Linked DNA regions of Homo sapiens: region 1 is linked to region 2. Evidence: promoter capture Hi-C in 16 types of primary human blood cells and fetal thymus (Javierre and others, 2016). All regions are on one chromosome and are shown on one strand. Each heading gives the region's core, a stretch centred on a gene start or on the middle of the fragment in contact. The rest is flanking DNA. Distances are from core to core; before and after follow the strand shown.

Region 1 (5,261 bases), core at 945-3,444, 1.1 Mb after region 2:
CAGAAAGGACCAGGGGCCGTGGCTGCCTGTCAAGGCCTACGCCTTTCTAAGCAGGGAGGGGATTGCACTTTGCACCCCTTGGGGATCGCCCTGAGCGCCCCGTGAGCAGCTGGAAGGGGGCCCCATAGTTTTCCGAGCAGAGGAGCAGGAAGAGTTTCATTTCCTCCCCGTTGGGGCTGCCTGGGGGGGGTGCCTGTTAGGAACAGAGAGGGGACAGCAAGGGCGGGCGCGGAGAGGCCCACACCTCTCCAAGAAGGGCAGCGGTTTCTCTTGGCTCCAGGTAGGGGCCGCCCTGGGGCGTGCATTTAAGGGGCTGTAGAGAGGGAGGGACCCGCACTTTCCCGAGAATGTTGGGGGTTTCACTTTGCTCTAGTTGGCGGCATCCTGGCGACGGGCTTGTGGGCGGGGGGCACTCACAGTTTCCTGAGAAGGGAAGGAGGGCGTCCCGTGGTCCCCTCGGCGCGGCCCGAGCCACCTCCGCCCGCCCCCTCCTCTGTCCCCTCCCCGGGCCCGGCGTTCCCTCCCCTTCCGTGCGCCAGTGGAGGCCGGGGTGGGGCGGGGCGGGGCAGGCGCAGCCTGGGCTGAGTTTGCAGGGCTGCTCCCCTCACCCAACCCCTTCGAGTCCTCCGCGGGCTCCGCCCCACCCGGCCCGTGGGGGAGGTTCCGTCCCGCCGCCTTCGCCCGCGCGCTGCACTCGCGGACGATCTCTGCTCGCCTTGGGCGCGCCGTGGCGCGCGGGGCCGTGCTGGCGCTGCGGCTCCTCGGCCTGCTCCGCCGTCTGGTGGCCGCCCCGGTGAGCGAGCGGCGGGATCCGGGTGGGAGGACGCGGGGGGTGGCGCGGGCTGGGCCTGGGGATCCGCCTGGGGATGTGGGGTGCAGGGGCGGGGCGCCCCGCGGGGACACCCGGCCCCTCTTCCGTGCCCGGCGGGACGCGCTGTGCCCACGGGGACCCAGGTCCGGAGGAGGCGCCCACTTTCTCCCCAGCGCTCTTCCTGGGGCCAGGTGGGAGCCGTTTCAGAGGAAAAAGCCAGCGTTTCTTTCGTAAACCAAAAAGTATCTGGGACAAGTCCCAATCCTTTTGAGTTGATTCGGCGAAGATCAGGAAGGAGCCCGGGAGACGGGTCTATGCCTTTCTCCAAAGATACTATTGAGAGCTTCGGTATTTAAAGGGGGAAAGCACGCTGGAGGGGAAAGAAGGAGGAAGGCTCATTTTACCGAATTCACCTGTTGCAAAAGAAAAGCAGCAGGTAGAATAGTCAATTATGTATTTGTCTTGCGCTCACTAAATTGGCACTTTACTAAGATAAGGTCAACAGAGAGTTATTGCACTGTCTGCTTGGGAACAGAAGGAAAGACAGCTTCCTGCCTGACTCAGCTTCCAGCTTTATTATTATTATTATTAATTATTTTGGCAGAGTGAACTGGGGTTCCAAGTTTTAATTTTCCTTCTACAGTTTGCAGAATCGCAAACTCTTAAATTTAGGGGAACCTGGGGAAGAGGTGGCATCCGATTCCCCCCCAACCCTGGTGACGTTCTTATGGATCTTATGGATACTGCAGTCTCTCTTCTCTTTCTGTCTCTCCTCTCTTCTCTTTCCTTTCTCTCTCTCCTCTTCTCTCCCTCTTCCTCTCTCTCTCCTCTCCTCTCTCTCTCTTCTCTCCTGTTCCCTCTCTCTCTTCTCTCTCTTCTTTCTCTCGCTTTTCTCTCTCCTCACTCTCCTCTCTCCCTCTCTCTCCCCTCTTTCCTCTTTCTCTCGCCTCTCTCTCACCTCTCTCCTCTCTCCCCTTTTCTCTCTCTCCCCCTCTTCTCTCTCTCCCCCTCTTCTTTCTCTCCTTTTCTCTCTCGTCTCTCTCTCCTCTCCTCTCTCCTCTCTCTCTCCTCTCCTCTCTCTCCTCTTTTCTCTCTCCCATCTCTCTCTCTCCTGTCTCCTTCTCTCTTGTCTCTCGCCTTTCTCCTCTCTCTATCTCCTCACTCTCTCCTTCTCTCTCCTCTCTCTCTTGTCTCTCTCCCGCCTCTCTCATCTATCTCCTCTCTCTCTCCCCCCTCTCCTCCCTCTCCTCTTTCTCTCCTCTATCTCCTCTCTCCCCCTCTTTCTCTCTCCTCTCTCTCTCTTACTCCCTCTTTTTCTGTCTCATGCTCATCTTTTACTGTTTTCACCTGAGGGAAGAGTGATGAGAAGATAGGAATTCACGTTTTCTGAAGTATTTAGAAACGTGGGGCCGTGGTGTTTTCTCCACCTGTTTTTGGGTCATTCCTTCCTCATTTCTCAGAACATTGGTATTAACAGCTCATTTCCCTCCTTTAAGGGCTGACTTTGACTTAGCGATGCCTTTCCTGATGGAGGAAACAGTGAGTAACTTTTTAAAGTCTCCTCTGTTGCTGACTTTGCTGATTGTCATTGAATTATTATCATTTTCAAGACATCTCTTTTGCGTGATAAATGGATTGAGTTTGGACAGTGGGAACATAGGAAGTATATGTGTTGTTTATTTTTGTTGTTGGATTTTTGATATATTTTTTTTTTGTTACCAGCATGCTGGTTTTTTTGTTTTTTTTGTTTTTTTTTTTTTTTGAAGTGTAGGTTCAGAGTCTCACTCTGTGGCCCAGGCTGGAGTGCGGTGGCGCGATCTCGGCTCACCGCAACCTCCGCCTCCTGGGCTTAAGCGATTCTTGTGCCTCAGCCTCCTGAGCATCTGGAATTACAGGCACCCACTACCACGCCCGGCTAATTTTTGTCTTTTTAGTAGGGGCTGGGTTTTGCCATGTGGAGCAGGCTGGTCTCTAACTCCTAAACTCAAGCTATGCACTCACCTTGGCCTCCCAAAGTGCTGGGATTATAGGTGCAAGCCATCACGCCCAGCCAGTATGCTGGCTTTTATTTTAAAATGGTTAGTCTTTGGAACAACGTAAGGCAAATGTGACTCCCTTGGCCAGGTCAGGCCTCGTGGGCATAGATCTGCGCAGTCACACAGGGACCTGTGCACACAAGGGTGCCATGCTGCTTTATTGCTGTGTTGCTGCCATCTTCAGATTCTTCATACAGTTGGAACAATGGGTCGCACATTTTCATTTTCACAGGCCCTCCCAAATTCTGGAGGTGGTCTGCACACCTGGTTTAGTTTTCTTTGAAAATACTTGAAGTTAAATCCTGTACCTGGAAGACAACAGAAGGGAATTGGCAGGAGGCTACGTGTATGGGTATCCCCACCATGACAAAAACAAGGGCCAGTTTTTACCTGTTTAGTGAACAGTCTCTGTGCAAATTGATATTTCAGTTTCTTTTCTCATCGCTATGGAAATTGATTTTTCATTTTCTGGTCGCTGTGGAAATTGATTTTTCATTTTCTTTTCTGGTCGCTATCAAAATTGATTTTTCATTTTCTGGTCGCTATGGAAATTGATTTTTCATTTTCTTGACTACTAGGTACTGATGATTGCAACTCTCATGTTTTACAAACAGGTGACCCAGCACCACCTAATGCCCCCAAACCAAAGCCAGATCCAAACCCCAACCGACCTGGTTTCACTGGTAAGAGCCTCTAACCCTACGGGTGGTCTCTATATTGTTTATTGTAACTTTATTTTATACTTATTCATAAGAATATTAATTCACATTTTCTCATGTTTTCTCATTTCTATCATATGACATTTACTGACAAATACTATTCTATCTAAATATATAATAAAATACATTAATTCCTTTAATCCCTAATGTTGAAAACATTGTGTCTTCTGACATTTTAGAATTATGAATTACAAAGCCAATTTGAGTCAACTTTGTCTACTCTTTTTCATTCCTTTGAAGAGATTTCTGGCATTCAAATTGTCTAGATCAATGCTCATGAGTACTTTTATAGCTTTTAACCTGGTTGGTTGTTTGCCCCAGAATTGCACCAATTTGATTTGATACCAGGGTGTCTGCAAATGTCCCTGTCTTCGAACCTTTTCCAGTAGCAATTATCACCTACAAAACCTTTGTCAAATAGTGTAATTATTATATCAAACCGGTCTTAGTTTTACATCTCTCATTCTGAAATGTAAAAAGCATAATGCATCCCAATGGGCCACGGAGACTTCTTCTTTTGTGTATTGGATGCTTTGGCTTTGATCCTTCAATTCATGGTGCCCGCCACCAGGCCCAGCTCATTTTTGTATTGTTAGTAGAGATGGGGTTTCACCATGTTGGCCAGGCTGGTCTGGAACTCCTGACCTCAGATGTTCTGCCTGCCTCAGCCTCCCTACCTACTGATGTATGAGCCTTCTTCAGTGATTTATCAATATTAAAGATTACCAGCCACTTATTATGAAAATGGTTTTGCACTTTATTTTTGCCTTTGAATATTTTTAACAGGAATGTTTTACAAGTGGTATGTTTATTTTTTTATGGTGTCTTATGTTTGTGTGGATATCCTGCTTTTTGTAACTTTTTTTCCTTTTAAATTGAGAATCATTTTGCTATTGTCCCTTCTCTTCAGAGAAGTAAAACCTTCTTTTTAATTTCATTTGAATTGTTTATCACCATAGGTTGATTGAAGGAATGGTAACACGTTTTCAATGTTGAGTTTTTTCTTTTATTTTCTTTCCTTTTTTTATTTTGGAGACAGAGTCTCTCTCTGTCGCCCGGGCTGGAGTGCAGTGGCGTGATCTTGGCTCAGTGCAACCTCCACTTCCTGGGTTCAAGCAATTCTCGTGCCTCAGCCTCCCAATTAGCTAGGATTACAAACATGCACCACCATGCCCGGCAAATTCTTGTATTTTCAGTAGAGACGGGGTTTTGCCATGTTAGCCAGGCTGATCTTGAACCCCTGACCTCAGGTGATCCGCCCATCTCAGCCTCTCAAAGTGCTGGGATTACAGGTGTGAGCCACCATGCCGGCCTGAGCTTTTTCTTTGAGATTCGATTTGTCTCTTCCTCTTGTTGATTCTGTCAATGGGTTTCTAAAGTGTTTTTTCCTTGTTTTTGTTACTCTGAATCCATTTTCATGTCCACTATTTTTCTGTTTATTTCTGTCATGTAGAAGAGATTGTGTATATATTTTTTGCAATCCATGAAATGATGACCCTTTGTTAAATTTCAATTTTTTTTCTCTTCATTTCTGACCTTTTCTAAGAAGTTGGTCATGTTATTTGGTAATGGGTTTTTAAAATTTTCCCTGTTCCTAGATTTATACGTTCTCTTTACAGTTTATTTGTAATTTAGTTCTATGGCCTTTGCTAGAAGACTCAGGACAACTTTTAATATGTAGAGTTGTAAATATGG
Region 2 (5,392 bases), core at 860-3,359:
GGAGGCCAATATTTGGGAAAAGGGGCAGCATCCTGGTGCACGTAGGACGCTGGCACCTGTCTGGCAGTGCCTAAATGAAAGTACTGCTTTTCCAATGTGGGATAATTCCTTTTTTTTTTTTTTTTTTTTTGAGACAGAGTCTCACTCTGTCACCCAGGCTGGAGTGCAGTGGCGCGATCTTGGCTCACCGCAACCTCCGCCTCCTGGGTTCAAGTGATTCTGCTGCCTTAGCGTGCCGAGTAACTGGGATGACAGGTGCCCGCCGCCACACTCGGCTAATTTTGGTATTTTTAGTAGAGACGGGGTTTCACTATGTTGGCCAGGCTGGTCTCAAACCCCTGACCTCAAGTGATCCACCCACCTCGGCCTCCCAAAGTGCTGGGATTACAGGCGTCTGTCACCGCCGTAAACACAAAATATGCTACTATCTGGCGCTGCTTGCCAAAGTCAAGTGGGCTATGCAAGGAGGAACGGAACGGGAAGGAGAGATTGAACGGCGCAGTCAGGTGCACCTGCTTCCCCACGGGCTTCAGCTCCTCAGCGGTTTTCACTTAGGGCTCTCGCGCTTCAGACTTCTCATCCACGTTACGTAAAGATAACAACATGGGAAGAAACAACCACACACACACACACACACACAGACACACACACAGACACACACACACACACACACACAAACCCTTTTCTTTTTGGGAACAGAGCCACGTGACCATGGTTCCCCTTTATAGAAATGGGACCTAAAGCGCCACAGCAGGCCTTGTTGTGTGTGGCCTGAAATTCCCAGAGCAGCTCCCTCTGCCTTTTCTCAGCTTTTTAGGGGACAGATCTGACAAGACCCAAGGAATTGGGGTTTCTAAGCGGACCTGTACAAATGAGGTCTGAGGTGGCCGTGAGACCCGGGTCTGGGGTCTCCCTGGCACCGAGGGGGTGACGAGGGGCCACCGTGCTCATCCAGGCACCCATAGGGCTTTAAAACCCGTTTAATTTATGCTTACTCTTCCATTATTGGAACGCTAAGCATTTGGGAGTTATTTATATCCCACGGCTCAAGGTCATCGCCAAGGTCTCATTGCAAACATTGAAAAAACTGCAATCTCAGGCGTAAATGGGTTACGTGCAGCAGCCGCAGCTGCTTACCCTCTCTAAGGTTAACCTCAAGAGAGGCGCATTTCATGGAATGAGTTTTTTTTTGTTTTTTTTTTTCTAAACAGAGTCTCGCTCTGTCGCCCAGGCTGGAGTGCAGTGGCGTGATCTCTGCTCACTGCAAGCTCCACCTCCAGGGATCATGCCATTCTCCTGCCTCAGCCTCCCGAGTAGCTGGGACCGCAGGCGCCCACCACCAAGCCCAGCTAATTTTTGTATTTTTAGTAGAGACGGGGTTTCACCGTGTTAGCCAGGATGGTCTCGAACTCCTGACCTCAGATGATCCACCCACCTCGGTCCCCCAAAGTGCTGGGATTACAGGCACCTGCCACCACGCCTGGCTAATTTTTGTATTTTTAGTAGAGACGGGGTTTCACCGTGTTAGCCAGGATGGTCTCGAACTCCTGACCTCGTGATCCGCCCACCTCGGCCTCTGAAAGTTCATGGAATGAGTTATTAAAGGAAGGGTGGCTTGCAGCCCTGGAAAATTTGAGCATTTCTCCCCTAAGTGACGAAGCGGCTGTGCAAAGTCTTCCTCCCAGGAAATTTGCACTCCTGGTCTGCTCTAGCGTGAGGAGAACACGCCTCATGGAGTTTGCACCGTCTTCCCCCATGTTCTCACCGTACACGGACCCTCCCAGCGACCCTGTCTTCTCCCTTGACAGTGCAGGACAAGCATAAAAGTCCAGCTCGGCGGCTCACCTGTGCAGAAGCAGCGGCAGAAGTAGCAGGTGAGAGCTCAGAGGGTCTCCAGGTAACAGGATGCAACGCTTAAGTCGACGGCCGTGCCTCAGAGCCCGGGACTCGGGGGGCCAGCCACCAGCTTGCAAGCCGTGGTCACTCAAAGTGCTTGAGAAGGTGTTCGTGGGCGGCAGACGGCTGCCCTTCCAGTTCCATCTGTCCAGCAACCTTGCAAAGGCGGCCGCTTCGCTGGGTGGCCCACCGGCTGGCACGACTGTCTCCGAATGCAAATTCTGCAAACTCCACCTCCCAGCGCACCACCACGGTTGCGACTCAGGCTTAGGTGGAAAGGAAGTGTGTTGTGACATTTCCTCTGTAACTGTCTGAACACTCATGTGCAGGGCTGAGCCCACTGGAGTAACGTCGCTGTGTCTCTGGGCAGCACCGTTAACCGCCCACCTCCCTATCACTGGCTCGCAGGGGGCCCTACTCTTAAGAGAACCCTGAGAGTGAGGAAAAGAGGGAGAATGATTTTTCTAAATTTTGTAACCAGCAGTGAAGAGCCGTGGCATGCTCCAGAACCGATTCCTGTTTCTTCTGAAATAACAAAACAAAACAAAGAAAGAACAGAACACGTTTCCTTTTAGACTCTAAAGCTGTGCTCATTGCGACATCTCTTGGTACACAGCCAGACTGTGACAAGCGAACAGACCTTGGGCACTGATCATTCCGGCTCTCACAGTTGGTCACGGGCGCTGCAGGCTCATATCCTCAACATCCCATGGGGGATCGGCCAGTTTCAGGAATGAGAACCAGGTTTCCGAGCTCTGGTATCCTTGCTTGTGAGGAGCAACGGTTGGTTCTTGTCACTCGTGGGAGGAGGTTGAGAGGGAAGGATCTGTCACTGAGAAAGAATGAATGAATATTGAACCACTGCTCAGGGAAAAGACATGGTAGAATCAATCCCTCAAGCCAGGCTGGGTGTGGTGGCTCACGCCTGTAGTCCCAGCACTTTGGGAGGCCAAGGCGGGTGGATCACTTCAGGTCAGGAGTTTGAGACCAGCCTGGCCAACATGGCGAAATCCCGTCCCTACTAAAAACACAAAAATTAGCTGGGTGTGGTGGTGGACACCTGTAGTCCCAGCTACTGGGGAGGCTGAGGCAGGAGAATCACTTGAACCTGGGAGGTGGAGGTTGCAGTGAGCCAAGATCAGGCCATTGCACTCCAGTCTGGGTGACAGTGAGACTGTCCCAAAAAACAAACAAACAAACAAAAAGACCAGGCCTGCTGGCTCACGCCTATAATCCCAGCACTTTGGGAGGCCAAGGCGGGTGGATCACTTGAGGTCAGGAGTTCGAGACCAGCCTGGCCAACATAGCGAAATCCCGTCCCTACTAAAAATACAAAAATTAGCTGGGCATGGTGGTGGATGCCTGTAATCCTAGCTACTGGGGAGGCTGAGGCAGGAGAATCACTTGAACCCGGGAGCTGGAGGTTGCAGTGAGCCAAGATCAGGCCATTGCACTCCAGCCTGGGTAACAGAGTGAGACTGTCTCAAAAAAAAAAAAAAAGTCGAGGCCTGGTGGCTCACACCTGTATTCCCAGCACTTTGAGGTGCCAAGGTGGGCCGGATCACTTGAGGTCAGGAGTTCGAGACCAGCCTGGCCAACATAGCGAAACCTGTCCCTTAAAAATACAAAAATTAGCTAGGCGTGGTGGTGGACGCCTGTAATCCCAGCTACTGGGGAGGCTGAGGCAGGAGAAGCATGTGAACCTAGGAGGTGGAGGTGGCAGTGAGCCCAGATTGGGCCATTGTACCCCAGCCTGGGTGACAGAGTGAGACTGTCTCAAAAAAAAAAAAAAAAAAAGGCCAGGCCTGGTGGCTCACGCCTATAATCCCAGCACTTTGGGAGGCCAAGGCGGGTGGATCACTTGAGATCAGCAGTTCAAGACTAGCCTGGCCAACATGGCGAAACCCTGTCTCTACTAAAAATACAAAAATTAGCTGGGTGTGATGGTGGGGGCCTGTAGTTCCAGCTACTGGGGAGGCTGAGGCAAGAGAATGACTTGAACCAGAGAGGCAGAGGTTGCAGAGAGCCGAGATCATGCCACTGCACTCCAGCCTGGGCAACAGAGAGAGACCCTGTCTCAAAAAAAAAAAAAAAAAAAATCAAAAGAATCCTTCAGGCCCCTGGTCACAGTGTTTTCTTCAACAGATCAATAAGTAGCTTTATATTATGTGTGTTTCTGTTTGAAAACACCTTATTAAGGAAATCGTTCTGTAAAAGGACATCCACACTCACAGTTCATCACAGCACTATTCACCATAGCAAAGACACAGAGTCAACCCAGGTGCTTATCCACCATGCATCGGATAAAGAAAATAGGGTACGTGACCGGCGGGTGCAGAGGCTCACGCCTGTAATCCCAGCAGTCTGGGAGGCCGAGGCAGGTGGATCACCTGAGGTCAGGAGTTCGAGACCAGACTGGTCAACATGGAGAAACCCCCTCTCTACTAAAAATACAAAAAATAATCTTGGCGTGGTGAAAGACACCTGTAATCCCAGCTATTTGGGAGACTGAGTCAGGAGGATCGCTTGAACCCGGGAGGCGGAGGTTGCAGTGAGCCGAGATCATGCCGCTGCACCCCAGCCTGGGCAACAAGAGCGAAACTCTGTCTCAAAAAATAAATAAATAAACAAATAAAAATAAAAAATAATAAAATGGGGTACATAGACACCATGGAATAGTACAAAGCTGTGAAAAAGAATGAAATCATGTCCTTTGCAGCAACTTGGATCCAGCCGGAGGCCATTCTCCAAAGTAAATTAATACAGAGACAGAAAGCCAAATACCGCATGTTCTCACTTATAAGCAGGAGGTAAACACAGGGTACTCATGGACATAAAGATGGGAACAACAGGCCAGGCGTGGTGGCTCATGCCTGTAATCCCAGCACTGTGGGAGGCCGAGGTGGGTGGATCACCTGAGGTGAGGAGTTTGAGACCAGCCTGACCAACATGATGAAACCCTGTCTGTACTAAAAACACAAAAATTAGCTGGGCATGGTCACAGACACCTGTAATCTCAGCTACTCGGGAGGCTGAGGCAGGAGAATCGCTTGAACCCGGGAAGAGGAGGTTGCAGTCGCTACTAAAAGTACAAAAATTACTCGAGCATGGTGGCACATGCCTGTAATCCCAGCTACTCAGGAGGCTGAGGCAGGAGAATCGCTTGAACCCTGGAGGTGGAGGTTGCAGTGAGCCAAGATCGCACCACTGCACTCCAGCCTGGGCAACAGGAGTGAAAATTCTGTCTCAAAAAAAAAAAAAAAGATGGGAAGAAGAGGCGTTACAGACTCCTAGAGTGGGGAGGGAGGGAGATGAAGGGCTGAAAAACTACCTACTGGGTGCTAAACTCAGTAGCTAGGTCATGAGATCATTCATACCCAAAATCTCAGCATCACACAAGATACCCTTGTAACAAACCTGCACATGTACCCCCGGAATCTAAAATAAAGTAAAGGCTGGGCACAGTGGCTCATGCCTATAATCCCAGGACTTTGGG

What was found. Contacts are between HindIII fragments. The CHiCAGO score rates a contact against its expected background, and 5 or more counts as called.
Region 1: a contact is called between a fragment that was not itself captured here and the fragment with the promoter of P2RY8 in region 2, in 4 of 17 cell types (naive CD8 T cells, total B cells, erythroblasts and 1 more). The highest score is 9.3, in naive CD8 T cells.

What each region holds. Positions count from the first base shown.
Region 1 is chrX:2,608,689-2,613,949 of GRCh38, forward strand. It overlaps LINC03112 (long intergenic non-protein coding RNA 3112), which reads right to left and starts at 479. Exons shown (of 2, transcript XR_001755779.3): 1 at 418-479. MIR6089 (microRNA 6089) reads left to right here and starts at 503; the gene lies at 503-566. It overlaps LINC00102 (long intergenic non-protein coding RNA 102), which reads right to left. Exons shown (of 2, transcript NR_037842.1): 2 at 4,303-5,008. It also overlaps the pseudogene CD99P1. RefSeq lists an enhancer at 1-374. The HindIII fragment of the contact is 6,762 bases long and covers 1-5,261 here.
Region 2 is chrX:1,535,076-1,540,467 of GRCh38, forward strand. P2RY8 (P2Y receptor family member 8) reads right to left here and starts at 2,110. Exons shown (of 2, transcript NM_178129.5): 1 at 1,846-2,110. The HindIII fragment of the contact is 32,946 bases long and covers 1-5,392 here.